Regions from separate parts of the Homo sapiens genome. Here regions 1, 2 and 3 are each linked to region 4. The links are contacts of gene promoters, found by promoter capture Hi-C in blood cells and fetal thymus (Javierre and others, 2016). All regions are on one chromosome and are shown on one strand. The core of a region is centred on a gene start or on the middle of the fragment in contact, and the rest is flanking DNA. Distances in the headings are between cores, read along the strand shown.

Region 1 (3,758 bases), core at 1,056-3,555, 240 kb before region 4:
CTTTTCCCATAATGATGATATTATAAACTAACAAAAGGCTAATACATGCATATGTAAGAGAACTACTGTGTACTAGGAATGAAAAAGTATAGAAAATTGCCAAAGTATAAACTTTTTAATGTTCAAAAATATATTTATGAGAATACATAGTGAGCACATTTCAAATATTTAAACTTAATGAGGGAACCATTAGGATGGTAAAGGCTGTTTAAAGAAGTATATGCAAGACTGGTGTATCGAATTAGTAAAAGAAAAGATGCTAAAATAAGATTGCTAAATTAGATACTGGGTAGATTAACAGCTCACCAAAGTGGTATAAAAATTATTTTAAACTGAGAACATCTTAATCTACAATCACCAAAAAATAAAAATAAAACATTATCTACACTTATGCAGGTACTCCCAAAAATACACCTGCCTTTGACACTACCCACACCCCTTCACCCAGGGAGTTTCCTGTTTCAGAAAATACTGACACTCAGCACCAGGAAGTATGAATTTAGCTGCCTATTAGCATCAAAAAGCCAAATAGAGCCTTTCATACTTTCCTATTGATGCCCTAAACCTCCCCTCCATTTTTGCTAAATTGGAATACAAACCTTTATCTCTGGCTACTAAACAAGTTACTCATTACTGAGTACTTCTGTAGGCACAAAAACTTTTGTTCTGTTAATCTATTCTTAGTTAATCCAAAGGCCTAGACCATTCAAACCTAAGAGGGTTAGGGGAAAGTTTTCCTCCCAACAGAGCAAAACCGGCTAATGTCGTAAAGAGCTATAAAATCATAACCTCTGGATTATGTTTTCTACTGAAGGGGTTCAAAACATGCTACCCTCAAAATATGCCACTTGGCATATTGCTTATTTCAAGCTAAAGTAAATTAAGAAACAGCCAATGCAGAAAAAGCTCTTCACTTCCCCCTCACCTGTTTAAAATAATGTATAAACTTCCCCTTCTGTAAGGAAAATTTACATTTACAAAGAAAATTTCTATTAGTAAAGGTATCCATACCAGGAAGAGAACAACTCTAAGACAATTTTTATTGCCTGAGAGACTCTTATCCACATAAGAAGGTAAACTATATTCACCCTACATTTCCTCCTCTCACCTTCCCATCATTTGCCTCCACCACTCCCCAGAAGTTCCAAAGCCCTATTTTTTCCTATAGCTTATGCTGACATATGTCTCAGTTATCTGGGTACTTCCTTGAGTCTCATTTTTAGTGGGATTCCCACGCATATGTCCATAAATTAAAGTTATTTTTCTCCTACTAATGTTTTTTATGTCCATTTAATTCTTAGACCAGCCACAGAACATAGAAGGGTAGAAGGGAGCATTTTTTCCTCCCCTACACAATCACACAGAAATCAATTTCATCTCTACCAAATGAAAATTATTTTCAACTCTGTAATGATAGATGTTAATTCCTAGAATCTAGTCCTAATCAATAGTAAATAGTAATTTTAACAAAAGAAATGACAGGATTTTTAGGTGCTGCTTTCCAGGTGGAAATTTCTGCGGCCGGCAGCACTCCTGCCCCAGCTTCACTCCACTCAGGGCTCACTGCTAGACTTGCCCCACATACTCGGCCCAGCAGGCTGTGCTGTGCTCATGCTGCCAACCTGGATCTCACACCCATCAAGGGCAAGCCAGGAGCACCAGCTGCTACAGCAGTAGGGGGCAACTCCAGGGGCCACCTCTGTACAAGTCTGCAGCTGGACCAGGAATACTGCAAGTGGCCTCCACCTTGGGCACCAGCATCTGGATGAGAGGAACATGGTGGTGCCTGAAAAACTCAGAGACATCAGCAACCGTGGAACCCAAAGGGGGTGTTACAGCTCCAGCTTGGGGAGTCCTGAGGTCTGGGCTCCAGAAGGGTTGCCGCTCTTCTCTCCCATGGACCAGAGAATGGGAGCGTGTCAATGCCCACAGCTCAGTGAGCCAGCCAGGAACATGTTACAGTCTTTTTTGCACCAATCATTCAGCAGGTCCCAGGTTCTTGTCCTACGTTCGAGAAGAATGAGTTATGCAGCCAACCAGAGGGTGACCAAGGCAGAGAAGAGTTTTATCAAATGGCAGAAGAGCTCTCCACAGAGAGGGTTCCCAAAGTGAGTAGCCCCTACCCAAAGTTGGGTAGTCCCTCCATGTGGCTGAGTCTGGGGTTTTTATAGGCTCAGAATGGGGGAGATGTGGGCTGTAGGTACCCTTGGAAAAGGCAACATTTGATTGATTAAAAGGAAGTTTTCAGAAATAACCAATCAGAAAAGAGCGGGCACACAGAAATAGTTCTCGCTTAGGTTGTGGACTCTATCTGGAACCCGGAGCCAGGTTTTCAGGCTTCAGGCTGTTTTTGGCTTGAGGGTCAGGTTTCACTGCAGACCCACCCCTGTCTGCCTAGGAATATGTCTGCCTCCTGCTGTTATCAGTAACATCATTCTAAAGCATCAGATGTCCCTCAGGTCAGCTTATTAGACAATGCTTTTATATGAGTTTGAAAGGACACAACTATCTCTACGTTTTCTAAGTCTGGAATAGTTTTCCTTAATGATAAATTTCTAAACAGTAAAATTCATTGAAAAATTTTAAAATTTATCCTAATTTAGCATCTTTTAAAATGTAGATTATTTAAATAAGATGGTTGGGGCATCATTATTTTTATTGTTTTCCTAAGTTGGGCTTATTGAGGTACATATGGTAAATTTCACCCATTTTAAGTGTACAGTTATGAGTTTAGGAGGTCAGGTAACCAACACCACTATCAAGATGTAGAATGTTTCCATCACCCAGAAAAGTTCCTTTGTGCCCGTTTGTAGTCAATTCCCTCAGCTTTCTCTAGTCCGTGGTAACTACTGATCTGTTTTCTGTTCGTATATTTTCTCTTTTCCAGAATGTCACGTAAGTAGAATCAGTTCTCATCAATGCCAATTTTTGCATTTGTGCTTTAGCTTTGGTTAGTCTATTCATTCTGCAAACATAAACATATCAGAAATATGCATATGCATTACACAAATAGGCAGAAAACTAGAGGCAGCATTTTGGTTGTTGGGTTTTTGTTCTTGTTTTTGTTTTTGCTTGAGACAAGTCTCATTCTGTCGCTCAGGCTGCAGTGCAGTGGTGCGATCATAGCTCACTGCAACCTCTGCCTCCTTGGCTCAAGTGATGCTCCCACCTTAGTCTCCTGAGTAGCTATTACCACAGGTGCATGCCCCCACATCTGGCTAATTTTTAAATTTTTTTTGTAGAAACAAGAGTCTCACATGTTTCCCAGGCTGGTCTCTTTCTCCTGGGCTCAAGCGATCCTCCTGTGTCGGCCTCCCAAAGTGCTAGGGTTATAGGCATGAGCCACCATGCCCAGACTAGAGGTAGCATTTTGAACTAATTAGTCAGAATGCAAATACAACTCTGTGAAATAGCTGAAGTATTGTCACTAAATTTTTATCAATAAAATATAAAGAGGATCATCCCTAAGAAAAAATCTAATTTAATAGTTGCATATAGCAGGGAATACAATTCAAGTAATACCTGCAATGTTAACTTAGTAAACTAAATCTCGTTAGGAAGATTCCCCTCCATGACACTATTATGGTCACTGTCCTCTGTACATACTGCCACGGCCACAGACACCACGTAAACCTGCCTGATACCCTTACCATCTTAGGCAGCAACCATACAGCCTTCAGGGATGAGCCCCAGGAAGAGGGCTTCCAACATGGAATTTCCCACCCTTGCTTTATTACATGGCTACTGCAGAGCCCAAT
Region 2 (3,580 bases), core at 35-2,534, 180 kb before region 4:
ATGGAACCAAAAAAAAGCCCACACAGCTAAGACAATCCTAAGAATAAGAACAAAGCTGGAGATATCACACTACCTGACTTCAAACTATACTACAAGGCTGTAGTAACCAAAACAGCATAGTAATGGTACCAAAACAGATATATAGACCAACAAAACAGAACAGAAGCCTCAGAAATAACCCCACACATCTATAACCATCTGATCTTTGACAAACCTGATAAAAACAAGCAACGGGGAAAAGATTCCCTATTTAATAATCGTGTTGGGAAAACTGGCTGGCTATATGCAGAAAACTGAAACCAGACCCCTTCCTTACACCTTATACAAAAATTAATTCAAGATGGTTTAAAGACTTCAATGTAAGACCTAAAACCACAAAAACCCTAGAAGAAAACCTAGGCAATACCATTCAGGACATAGGCATGTACAAAGACTTCGTGACTAAAACACCAAAAGCAATTGCATGCAACAAAAGCCAAAATTGACAAATGGGATCTAATTACACTAAAGAGTTTCTGCACGGCAAAATAAACTATCATCAGAGTAAACAGGCAACCTACAGATGGGAGAAAATTTTTGCAATCTATCCATCTGACAAAGGTCTAGTATCCAGAATCTACAAGGAACTTAAACAAAGTTACAGGAAAAAAACAACCCCATCAAAAAGTGCGCAAAGGATGTGAACAGACACTACTCAAAAGAAGACATTTATGTGACCAAAAAACATAGGAAAAAAAATCTCGTTATCACTGGTCACTAGAGAAATGCAGATCAAAACCACAATGAGATACCATCTCATGCCAGTTAGAATGGCAATCATTAAAAAGTCAGGAAACAACAGATGCTGAAGAGCATGTGGAGAAATAGGAATGCTTTACGCTGTTGGTGGGAGTGTAAATTAGTTCAACCATTGTGGAAGACAGTGTGGTGATTCCTCAAGGATCTAGAACCAGAAACACCATTTGACCCAGCAATCCCATTGCTGGTTATATACCCAAAGGATTATAAATCATTCTACTGTCATGTGTGGTGGCTCACACCTATAATCCCAGCACTTTGGGAGGCCAAGGCAGGCAGATCACCTCAGGTCAGCAGTACAAAACCAGCCTGACCAACATGGTGAAACCCCGTCTCTACTAAAAATACAAAAATTAGCTGGGCATGGTGGCAGGCACCTGTAATCCCAACTACTTGGGAGGCTGAGGCAGGAGAATCACTTTAACCCGGGAGGTGGAAGTTGCAGCAAGCCGAGATCACACCACTGCACTCCAGCCTGGGCAACAGAGGAAAACTCCCTCTCAAAACAAACAAACAAAAAAAATCACTCTACTATAAAGACACATGCACACGTATGTTTATTGCAGCCCTATTTACAATAGCAAAGACTTGGAGCCAACCCAAATGTCCATCAATGATAGGCTGGATAAAGAAAACGTGGCACATATACACCACGGAATACTACGTAGCCATAAAAAAGAATGAGTTCATGTCTTTGCAGGGACATGGATGAAGCTAGAAACTATCATTCTTAGCAAACTAACACAGGAACAGAAAACCAAACAAAAAAAAAATTCTGAGAAGAAAGCACAGGGCAAGTGCTTCATGATATTGGATTTGACAATGATTTATTGGATAGGACACCAAAAGCCCAGACAACAACAACAAAATGCACATACTGGACTTCATGAAAATGTAAGAATTTTGTGCATCAAAAAACACTCTCAACAGAATAAAAAGGCAACCCAAAGAATGGGAGAAAATATTTGCAAATCATATATATGATAAGGAATTAATATAGAGCATATATAGAGACCTCCTAAAATTTGACAACAAAAAAATTTTGATTTAAAAATGGGCAAAGAACTTAAATAGAAGTTTCTACAAAGAATATATACAAATGATCGATAAGCACATTAAAACATGCTCAACATCACTAATCATTAGAGAAATGCAAATCAAAACCACAACAAGATACTGCCTCACTCACATCCCCTAAGATGGCTTCTATTTTTAAAAGCTGAGAATAAGTGTGGGTGAATATATGAAGAAATTGGAACCTCTGTGCACACTTCGAGGGAAAATTGTATAGCAGTTGTGGAAAACAGTACAGTGGTTCTCCAAGAAATAAAAGCAGAATTATCATATGATGCAGCGATTCCACTTCTGGGAAAGTACGCAAAAGAATTGAAAGCAGGGTCTCAAAGACACAGTTGTACACTCATGTTCATAGCAGCATTATTCCCGGGAGCTAAAATGTGGAGGCACACAAGTGTCCACTGACAGATGAACAGATAAACAAAATGTGGTATATATACACAATGGAATGTTAGCCATAAAAAGGAAGAAAATTCTGGATAAAACTTGAGGACCTTAGGCTCAGTGAAATAAGCCAGTTACAAAAAGACAAGCACTGCATGACTCCACTTACATGAGGTACTTAGAGTATAACATTCATAGAGATGGAAAGTAGAATGATAGTTTCCAGGGCCTTTGGGGGAAGGGGCAATAGAGAATTATTGTTTAATGGGCATACAGCTTCAGTTCTGCAAGAAGGAAAGTGTTCTGGAGATTGATGGTGGTGATGGTTGTACAAGCATACGAATGTACTTAATACCACTGAACTGTACACTTAAAAATGATTAAGACATTAAATTTTATGTTATATATATTTTTCCTCAAAAAAAGAGAAAAATTTACAATGAAAAAAGATCATAATATAAGTTAAAATTCAATTTGTAAAATACTATGTATTGAATTATCAGTTCTATTTTTTAGTATATTTTAAACATATTTTTTAAATGTATAAATATAGTATAAACATATGTTTAGGTGTGGAATGATAAAGAACAAAATAGTATGCATGGTCATATCCAGGTTTTCCTTATATGTGTTTTTATAATGGACAGGAATTTATTTTGTAATAATAACACCATAAAATATTTTTCAAAAGCACATAAAAAATAATTATCACAAAGTTTCTTTAGGCAAAAAGTTTCCTTAATAAGGAAGAGAAAGTTAGAAACAGGATATCTCATCTGAAAAATGAAGTGTGACTGTTAGGAAGAAACAATAACACAAGTTACCATGGAATAAAAGTGTCTTTTAAAAATGTTTGTATTAAAAAGGAACCAGCTATTTATCATTGCAGAGTTAATAATTTAGTGAAGAAATTATAGCTATTCCAGGTTTAGTTTTATTAGGCTGAAAGAAATCATTTTTAATAACACATCACCGTTGTAGAACTTCTTTTCTTCAACTTCATGTCTTCTGGAATGTTCTTGACAATAATTAAACTATATTTAACCACACATAGCAATGCACTTCATGTGACTATAGATGAACAAACTAAGCCATTGCTAGGGCTTGAATGTTTGTCTCTTCCCAAACTCATGTTGAAACTTAAACGTCATTCTAACAGTATTAAGAGGTGGAAGCTTTAAGAAGTGACAAAGCTGTGGGGGCTCTGTCCTCATGAGTGGATTAATGCCATTATTGCAGGAGGGAGTTTGTTATCATGGGAATTATAAAAAAACAAGTTTGGCTCACTCTCTCGTTCTCTCTCGCTCGCTCTCTCTCTCTC
Region 3 (3,942 bases), core at 308-2,807, 160 kb before region 4:
CCGCACCCTGCGCATTTTTTTTTTACAAGGTGTAATGCTTTCAGCCAATTAAGTCCAATTTCTTGACAGACTTGTCCTAAAGTTACTTTTGTGTCTCAGTGTTTACATTCCACTTGCTCTGAGGATTGGGAATGATATAGGGTATTAAATTTCAATGAATATCCTAGAACTTTTGCAAACAACTGTTTTATTTCTGCTGTAAAATAAGTTCCAGTGGTCTGATTGAATCTATAATAGAACATCCAAATGAAGAATGATCTGTTATTTATTATTTATTAATTGATTAATTTATTTTTGAGACAGAGTCTTGCTCTGTCTCCCAGGCTGGAATGCAATGGCACGATCTCAGCTCACTGCAACCTCCATCTCCCAGGCTCAAGTTTCCTGCCTCACCCTCCCAAGAAGCTAGGACTACAGGCATGCACCACCACACCAGGCAAATTTTTGTATTTTTTGTGAAGATGGGGTTCTGCCATGTTGGCCAGGCTGGTATCGAACTCCTGACCCAGATGATCCACCTGCCTCAGCCTCCCATAGTGTTGGGATTAAAGGCATGCGCCACCAGACCAGGGTAATTTTTGTATTTTTTGTACAGATGGGGTTCTACAATGTTGGCCAGGCTGGTATCAAACTCCTGACCCCAAATCATCCACCTGCCTCAGCCTCCCAAAGTGCTGGGATTACAGGCGTGAGCCACCACGCCTGACCTGTTATTAATTTCTTTACCACTGTCATGGTGTCAGCACATCTAGTCAGATAGCGTTCAATCCATCCACTAAACATACAGACAACAATCAAACAGTAAGAAGAGCCTAAAGCCTAATGTCTTAGAGGACTTGCTGAGGCACGTTGGTCTCCTCCAAAAATCTGATGGGATTTATTAGAAGTGCACTGAGAATAATTCAGTTAGAAATTTTGTAAATACCAAGGCAAAACCAATTATCTTTTCATTCCTTAACTATCCTCTGTCTGTACATATGTCCCATCTGAAGGGAGATAAGTGCTTCAAGCCAAGAAGTTAAAAAAAGGGGGGCCACAGGAACTCCATTGGCCCCATGTATAATACACCTGATAATTATCTGACATTCTTTTGTATTCATTTGTGGGTTTTTTGTTTGTTTGTTTGTTTGTTTGTCGCACTGTGCCCATTCTCTGGTAATCAATAACACCAGTAAGCAATAAAGGCAGGTTAATAAAGGGTGGAAAAGAATAGGAGGGTTCTTTGGGGCTGCATTCTTAGTGGCCTTCTCCACCCTCTCGTTCCCTAGAGATATACTATCAGTCTCCTTAGGGTGAGCTGAACAATGAGCAATAGCAATTTGAATAGGGAGGTGAACAGCCTGTAATAGAGCAGCAATTATATGCTAATTGGAAATAGGATTATCAGCAGAAGTTAAGAATCTGCTGGACTTCCAGATTGCCAATAGTGTGGCAGACACCCAAAGCATATCTGGAGTCAGGGTAAATAGTGGCAATTTTTCCTTTTGCCATTACACCAGCTCTAGCAAGATCTATACATTCGGCAGCTTGGGCTGACTTTACAGTGGACAAAGAGGATGCCTGAAGTGTTTCACAAGGGAAAACTATGGCTTCACAGTTATGTTTCCTGGAAATGTCATCCACAGAAGCCATTACAAAATAGAAATAAGTCTGGATTGTCTAAAGGAGTATCTAGGAGGTCTTCTTGTGGCTTTGAGACCTTTTCTATAGCTGCAAGGCAAACATATTGAATGGAGTGAGGCTCTCCATCATCAGGCAGGGGCAGTAGAGCAGCTGGATTTAAAGTGTTACAACAATGCAACATGATGGAGGAGCTGGTAAACAGGGCCTGTGCATAGGTGGCCTGCCATCTGGAGAAAGGTGCTGTATCTTATGAACTTGTAAGAGAACAGGCAGCATGGGGAACATATGGATGAATGAAGGAGTGTAATATCAGAATATGCTGGCTTTGTCAATTATTAGGGTGGTAGCTGTGGCTACTGCACATCGGCATGGGGGTCCAATTGACATGAGAAATATGCTACAGGGTGTATCAGAGAGGCAAAAAAATTGTTCCAAATATCTGCAGCAATCCCATTGTGTCATGGTGAGATGGGCGAAAAGGTCTGTCAAAATCAGGTTAGCTGAGAGCAGGGGATGTGGATGTTAATTTTAAGGCTCCGGAGGAGATTTATGGATCTGCAGGCCAAGAAAATGGGCTCAGAATTAATATCTGGGAGGAGGGTATAAAGGAGCTTAGCAAAGGCAACAAAATTAGGAATATATTGGTGGCAATAACTAGCTGCTCCTAGAAATTTACATAGATGTTTTTTTGGGAGGGGAATGCACAAAACTGACTCTAGGCATTTTGGGGCGAGCTTTTGAGTGCTCTGAGATATGACAACCTAGCAATTCAATCCTACATAAGTAACAGTTATTTGCACCCACTGAAGTTTAGGTTGGAAGGCTTTATGGCCTCTGTTGAGCTAGTGCCTTTAGGAAAATGAGGGAGTCTGGAAGAGTGGGTTGCTTAGTTCAGTAACAAACTAAAAGATCATATCGGAATAATGAACAAGAGTAGAGCCTTGGGTAAAGGACACAGAGTCTAAGCTGACTTTAAGGACTCGGGAAAACACTGAAAAGGACTCATGGTATCCCTGACCTATATGAGTTCATGTTCATTTTCTCCCTCTAAATGTGAATGTAAAGAGAAATTTTGAGTCAGGGCGCAATGGAATTGAACAGAAAATTGAGCAGATGTCAATCATTGTAAATCAGGCTGTATCAGCAGAAATTGAAGTAGAAATGTCAGCTGGATTAGGGACTAAGGGGTGGTGAAAAATCACAAAGGAGTTTATGGGCTCTTAGATCTTGTACAAATCAATAGATTTTATTCCTGTCTGAATCAAATGTTCCTTATTTCTTTACTGGCAAGATTAAGGTATTACAGAGTAAGGAAGGAAATAAAGACAAGAACACCCTCTGTAAAAGACAGTCTATTATAAGTTTGTTGACCTAAAAGGAAGAAGCTGAGGCAAAATTAAAGAGTTTTTCTGTGCCAAGGCTGAGGATTGCAGCCTGATTCCAGGTTGCCTTGGCAAGCCTTTGGGAGAACAAAGGAAAGGCTCAAGTTTTTAAAGAAAAAGGACGAATCAGGAGAGGGAGTGATTACAAAATACGTTCATCAAGAATTCTCACTGATTTACAGAAACACATTGGTTAGTGATTGTCTATACGTTGTTAAACTATAGGGTATATGACATCTTATGGCTGTATGGCATCAGTTAGTCTATAGCTCATATAGCACATATAGCTTCAAGAGGTAATTCTTTAGCTCAAGGGCGAATGAAACCTGACTGCTGTTATATTATAAATACCTCTCTGGGCCTGATAATTTAAAGGAGTTTGCATTCCTTAGATAAAAAGGGTTTTTTTTTTTTCTTTCTTTCTCAGGTTTAATTTCTTGCTCTGCATTTTGTGAGAGGGCATACTGAGCTACTATCAGGAAAGATTTATTCTTTTCCAGGCAATAACTACAGGCTCCACACACAGTAGCAATTCAATCTCATTGGCATGTGAGGCTGGGAGATGAGTTGAGACATCTTTAAAGGTTGCTTCCTCTTCAGAGGATTTAAAATCAAGATGAATTTCCATTAGGGAAAGGAGGAAGTCTAAGGCCAGGGAAATAAAAATGCTTCTCTCTTTACATTGTATAACACATCTCCACCTAACAGGTTTGTTGGTGAGGACTCAGAAACTAGAAAACCTTGACTGAAAACACTCCCACAGGGTTGACAAGCATTGCATATTGGTTTCTAGAGAAATACAATTATAATTCAGCATTAATCAGGCTGCACTTTGGCCCACTTCCTTGTTGCTGAAAGGCACATAGCACTAGAATCTGAGCATCTGCAGATGTAACCACATTGTTCCTCTGGATAGGATTGCTGACATTAGGGTTGT
Region 4 (3,427 bases), core at 153-2,652:
ATAACACCAATGGCTTTTTTGCTAAAACCAATGGAAATGTTTGCATCTGACACTGGGACACACTTCCTCTTAGAAATGTCCCATTCCCTGGGCTTCTCTGATACCAAGCTCTTGGGATTCTTCTTTCATTTCTAGTGGTTCCTTCTCAGATTGGCTCAGTCCCCAGCCTCTCCTCTTCTGACTCATTCATTTAACCTACCAAGAAGGCAACCTCCCCAGTCCCAGGGCTGTTGGGCATCCCTACCCTTTGGGCATGCAGCACATCCATTTTTCTGACACTGGAGGGCAAGTGTGCCTTTTCTTTCTGCCTCCCGCTAGACAGTAAGCTCTTTTAGAATGGCAACTATTAATATGTTTCATCTCTGTACCTGCCCTCCCACTCATAGCATCTGCAGAGCTTGGTATATGGGGTAGACACGAAGACTTCCCGTTGAAGAAGTAAATGACTGAGACCTGAGTGACCACAGTACTTCTATCAATTTTATATTAATGACCACAGAGTCAGCTCAGTGATTGATTAGTATCAGGCTTTGGAGTCAGACATCGGGGGTGCCCAATACCAAGCAGTCCGGTAACCAGAAGCATGACCTTGCACAAGTAAATCTCCAAGAGCCTCAGTTTCCTCATTGTCAAATGGAGATAATTATGGTACCTGCTTCTTAAGATTATGATAATTAAACGTGAAAAATACATGTAAAGTCTTCAGAGACAAACCTAGCACATAGCAGGTAGCAGTACTTAATGTTAGCAATAAATAATAGCAAATAAAGTCAATATTTAATATTATTGTTACGTTAGCATCAGGTACATGCCTTCGACAATGTATTGATCAGAGTAAGAGCACTACTAGGTTTCCATGCTGATCACCAGGAAGACAACCAAAAACTGCTGTCTTCCTACCACCGCTTGGAAACATGCGTCCATTTGCTCATTAAACGTTTTACTTCCTTCCTGTGCCAGAGCTCTGCCTTAGGCTCTGTCCTGAAATTTATTTGGCACCTGCAAAGGCCCAGTGATAACTCTTGGCAACCGAATCAAAATGCCACAACTTCACAATTCCACTGGCTCACTCCAAACGTGAAATAGAAATTGAGCACCTGGAACCTATCTAGAGCCTGCTTTTGGGCCCTGGTGTTTGATAACTGCGCCCCACCCACTGACTCTCAACCTCTGCAGCGCCCCGGGCTCTAGCCCTAAGCGCCCCTCGGCCAGCCGCTGGCACATCTCTTACACCAGGGGAGGCGCGCGCGCGCGCACACATACACACACACACACGCACACACACACACACACACACCAGCCTTCCTTGCCCACCTGCTGCCCAGAGGCCGACGACGCATGCACCAGCAAGGACAAGCCCAGTCTTTTCAAGCGACACCTGTCGCCTGGCCTTTTCCGTGCCGGAGGGCGCGAGTCTCACGCTGTCTTTTAAATGCGTCACCCAAATCCCCACCCCTATCTGTACCAGGCGTTCCGCACTCCTCCCAGTGGTTTGCATGTGCACTGGTGCTTTCCTTTTAGGACTTAGGGGAACTCCAGCGGTAATAACCACACACACTTCCTCTTAATCAGTGGCCTGGCAAACCCACTCGGGGATTTCCATGACCCAAAAGCATGACTCTTAACCGTGGCATATCTTCGCGGCATTTACTGAAAGACATTTGCTTCATTGCTCGTGGGTCAGAGGAAATCTTGATAACAACCCATATAGAGAGGACGATCATTGCTTAGCCTGCCTGGAAAAGGTCAATATGCCCTGTTCTCCACCCTCCATCCGCCATACACTTTACACGTAAAAAGGTTAGGTTTTTCAATCTTCTACTATAGCTGCAGAAGTCCAGCATTTAAAAAAAAAAAAATCGAAACTTTGTGAAATATTTCTATTTATTTTTACTTTTTGTTCTGATCAAGAAAGTAAGAGGTGAAAGGAAATGTAGGGGTATGTGAAAAAAATCATGCAGTTCTCCTTTGCAGTTTATTTTACCATTTTAAAGATTGAAATGGCTTGGTAAATTTTCTGTATGGAAATACTTTTGTTTGGTTTGGTGAGTTGTTTTTTTTTTTTTTTTAATAAGTAGGGTGGAGTTGGCTACTTAAAAAAATCCCTCCTTTATAGCCTTTGATCTCACAGGGCAGGTTTCTGAGTTGCAGTGCCATTCTCAGGGAAACCTGACATCTTTGAGTCTAATTGCACTGCCATATTTCCCTCAACGTTCTCTAAGCAGTAAATTTAAGCAACTTTATCTGAGAGCCATCCGTACCAGGGTAACAGATGGATTTGGAGAGCTCATCTGATTTTCTATCTTCCAGTAGATCAAAGACAATTACCAACCAGAGACAGAGCCCATAAAGATTATTGGAGACTTCATCGTTCTGTGGAAACAGCATCCAGTGCATTCTGCACGCAATTGGACTGAGCTGAGGCATCCTCTTGTTTAGGTGGACTTGGCTGTCCATAGCAGCTGAAGTTCCAGTTGGAATTATTTCAGAAAGACTAAGTGTATTTATCATATGGAGATTTTAATCCACATTTGAGTCTGCTTCAATCAAGACTTTCTAAGCCATTTTCAACTCACTCCTGAGATTATTGAAAATAATTTGCAGGCCTTACACATTTTTGATTATGTACTCACCAGAAGAATTTTGAAAAGCTCTGCATTCCCTTGCCCATTTTTAACTTAACATTAAAACATAAAGCTCTTGTACATGTCAAGAATCTACAAAATGTAAACATAGATATTTTCAGAAAAAATTGATAGAGCACTCTTTTAAATGTATTTGATGGATCCTAATACCATAGTAATTTGACATACATGATCATCCATGAAGCAATTATCAGGTCATCTTTAATAACTGAAAATATTTTATCATTGCCTTTTGTCATTGAACATTCCAATTCCCCTACAGAATGTTAATACATGTTTGTACTGAACATCTTTTATCATCTCTCTGTCACATATCTCTGAAACAAATACATATTAGAACTTGAAATCTATTTTTTTCTCTGGGATCATAAGGATCTAAGTGTTAAAAAAAAAAAAAATTCCTCTTTGACCAGGCATGGTGGCTCACGCCTATAATACCAGCACTTTGGGAGGCGAAGGTGGGTGGATCATCTGAGGTCAGGAGTTCAAGACCAGTCTGGCCAACATGGTGAAACCGGTCTCTCCCAAAAATACAAAAATGAGCCAAGTGTGGTGGTGCACGCCTGTAGTCCCAGCTACTTGGGAGGCTGAGGCACAAGAATCACTTGAACCTGGGAGGCAGAGGTTGCAATGAGTCAAGACAGTGCCACTGCACTCCAGCCCTGGAACAGAGTGAGACTGCATCTCAAAAAAAAAAAAAAAAAATCCTCTTTGATTACATTATCATTGATATTGTTTTCATTACTTTTAAAGCATAATTGGTCAATACAATATAAAAATAT

What was found. The method cuts DNA at HindIII sites, captures the fragments that hold promoters and counts their contacts. A CHiCAGO score of 5 or more calls a contact.
Region 1: a contact is called between a fragment that was not itself captured here and the fragment with the promoter of BIRC3 in region 4, in 2 of 17 cell types (total CD4 T cells and naive B cells). The highest score is 5.4, in total CD4 T cells.
Region 2: a fragment that was not itself captured here is called in contact with the fragment with the promoter of BIRC3 in region 4 in 4 of 17 cell types (naive CD4 T cells, monocytes, fetal thymus and 1 more); the score reaches 5.6 in naive CD4 T cells.
Region 3: a fragment that was not itself captured here is called in contact with the fragment with the promoter of BIRC3 in region 4 in 8 of 17 cell types (neutrophils, non-activated CD4 T cells, naive CD8 T cells and 5 more); the score reaches 8.9 in neutrophils.

Annotation. Positions count from the first base shown.
Region 1 is chr11:102,556,751-102,560,508 of GRCh38, reverse strand. No RefSeq gene overlaps it. Among named protein-coding and RNA genes, the nearest start is that of MMP7, 28 kb to the right of the region's middle. The HindIII fragment of the contact is 4,858 bases long and covers 1-3,758 here.
Region 2 is chr11:102,499,888-102,503,467 of GRCh38, reverse strand. No RefSeq gene overlaps it. Among named protein-coding and RNA genes, the nearest start is that of MMP7, 29 kb to the left of the region's middle. The HindIII fragment of the contact is 4,304 bases long and covers 1-3,436 here.
Region 3 is chr11:102,478,754-102,482,695 of GRCh38, reverse strand. All of the region lies in intron 1 of LOC124902740 (a long non-coding RNA gene), which reads right to left. All of the region lies in intron 1 of LOC102723838 (a long non-coding RNA gene), which reads right to left. Among named protein-coding and RNA genes, the nearest start is that of TMEM123-DT, 28 kb to the right of the region's middle. The HindIII fragment of the contact is 6,416 bases long and covers 1-3,942 here.
Region 4 is chr11:102,315,459-102,318,885 of GRCh38, reverse strand. It overlaps BIRC3 (baculoviral IAP repeat containing 3), which reads right to left and starts at 1,402. Exons shown (of 9, transcript NM_001165.5): 1 at 1,315-1,402. It overlaps LOC124902739 (a long non-coding RNA gene), which reads left to right and starts at 1,643. Exons shown (of 2, transcript XR_007062864.1): 1 at 1,643-1,800; 2 at 2,314-2,991. RefSeq lists enhancers at 101-150, 411-610, 1,412-1,771, 1,782-1,851, 756-1,955. The HindIII fragment of the contact is 7,438 bases long and covers 1-3,427 here.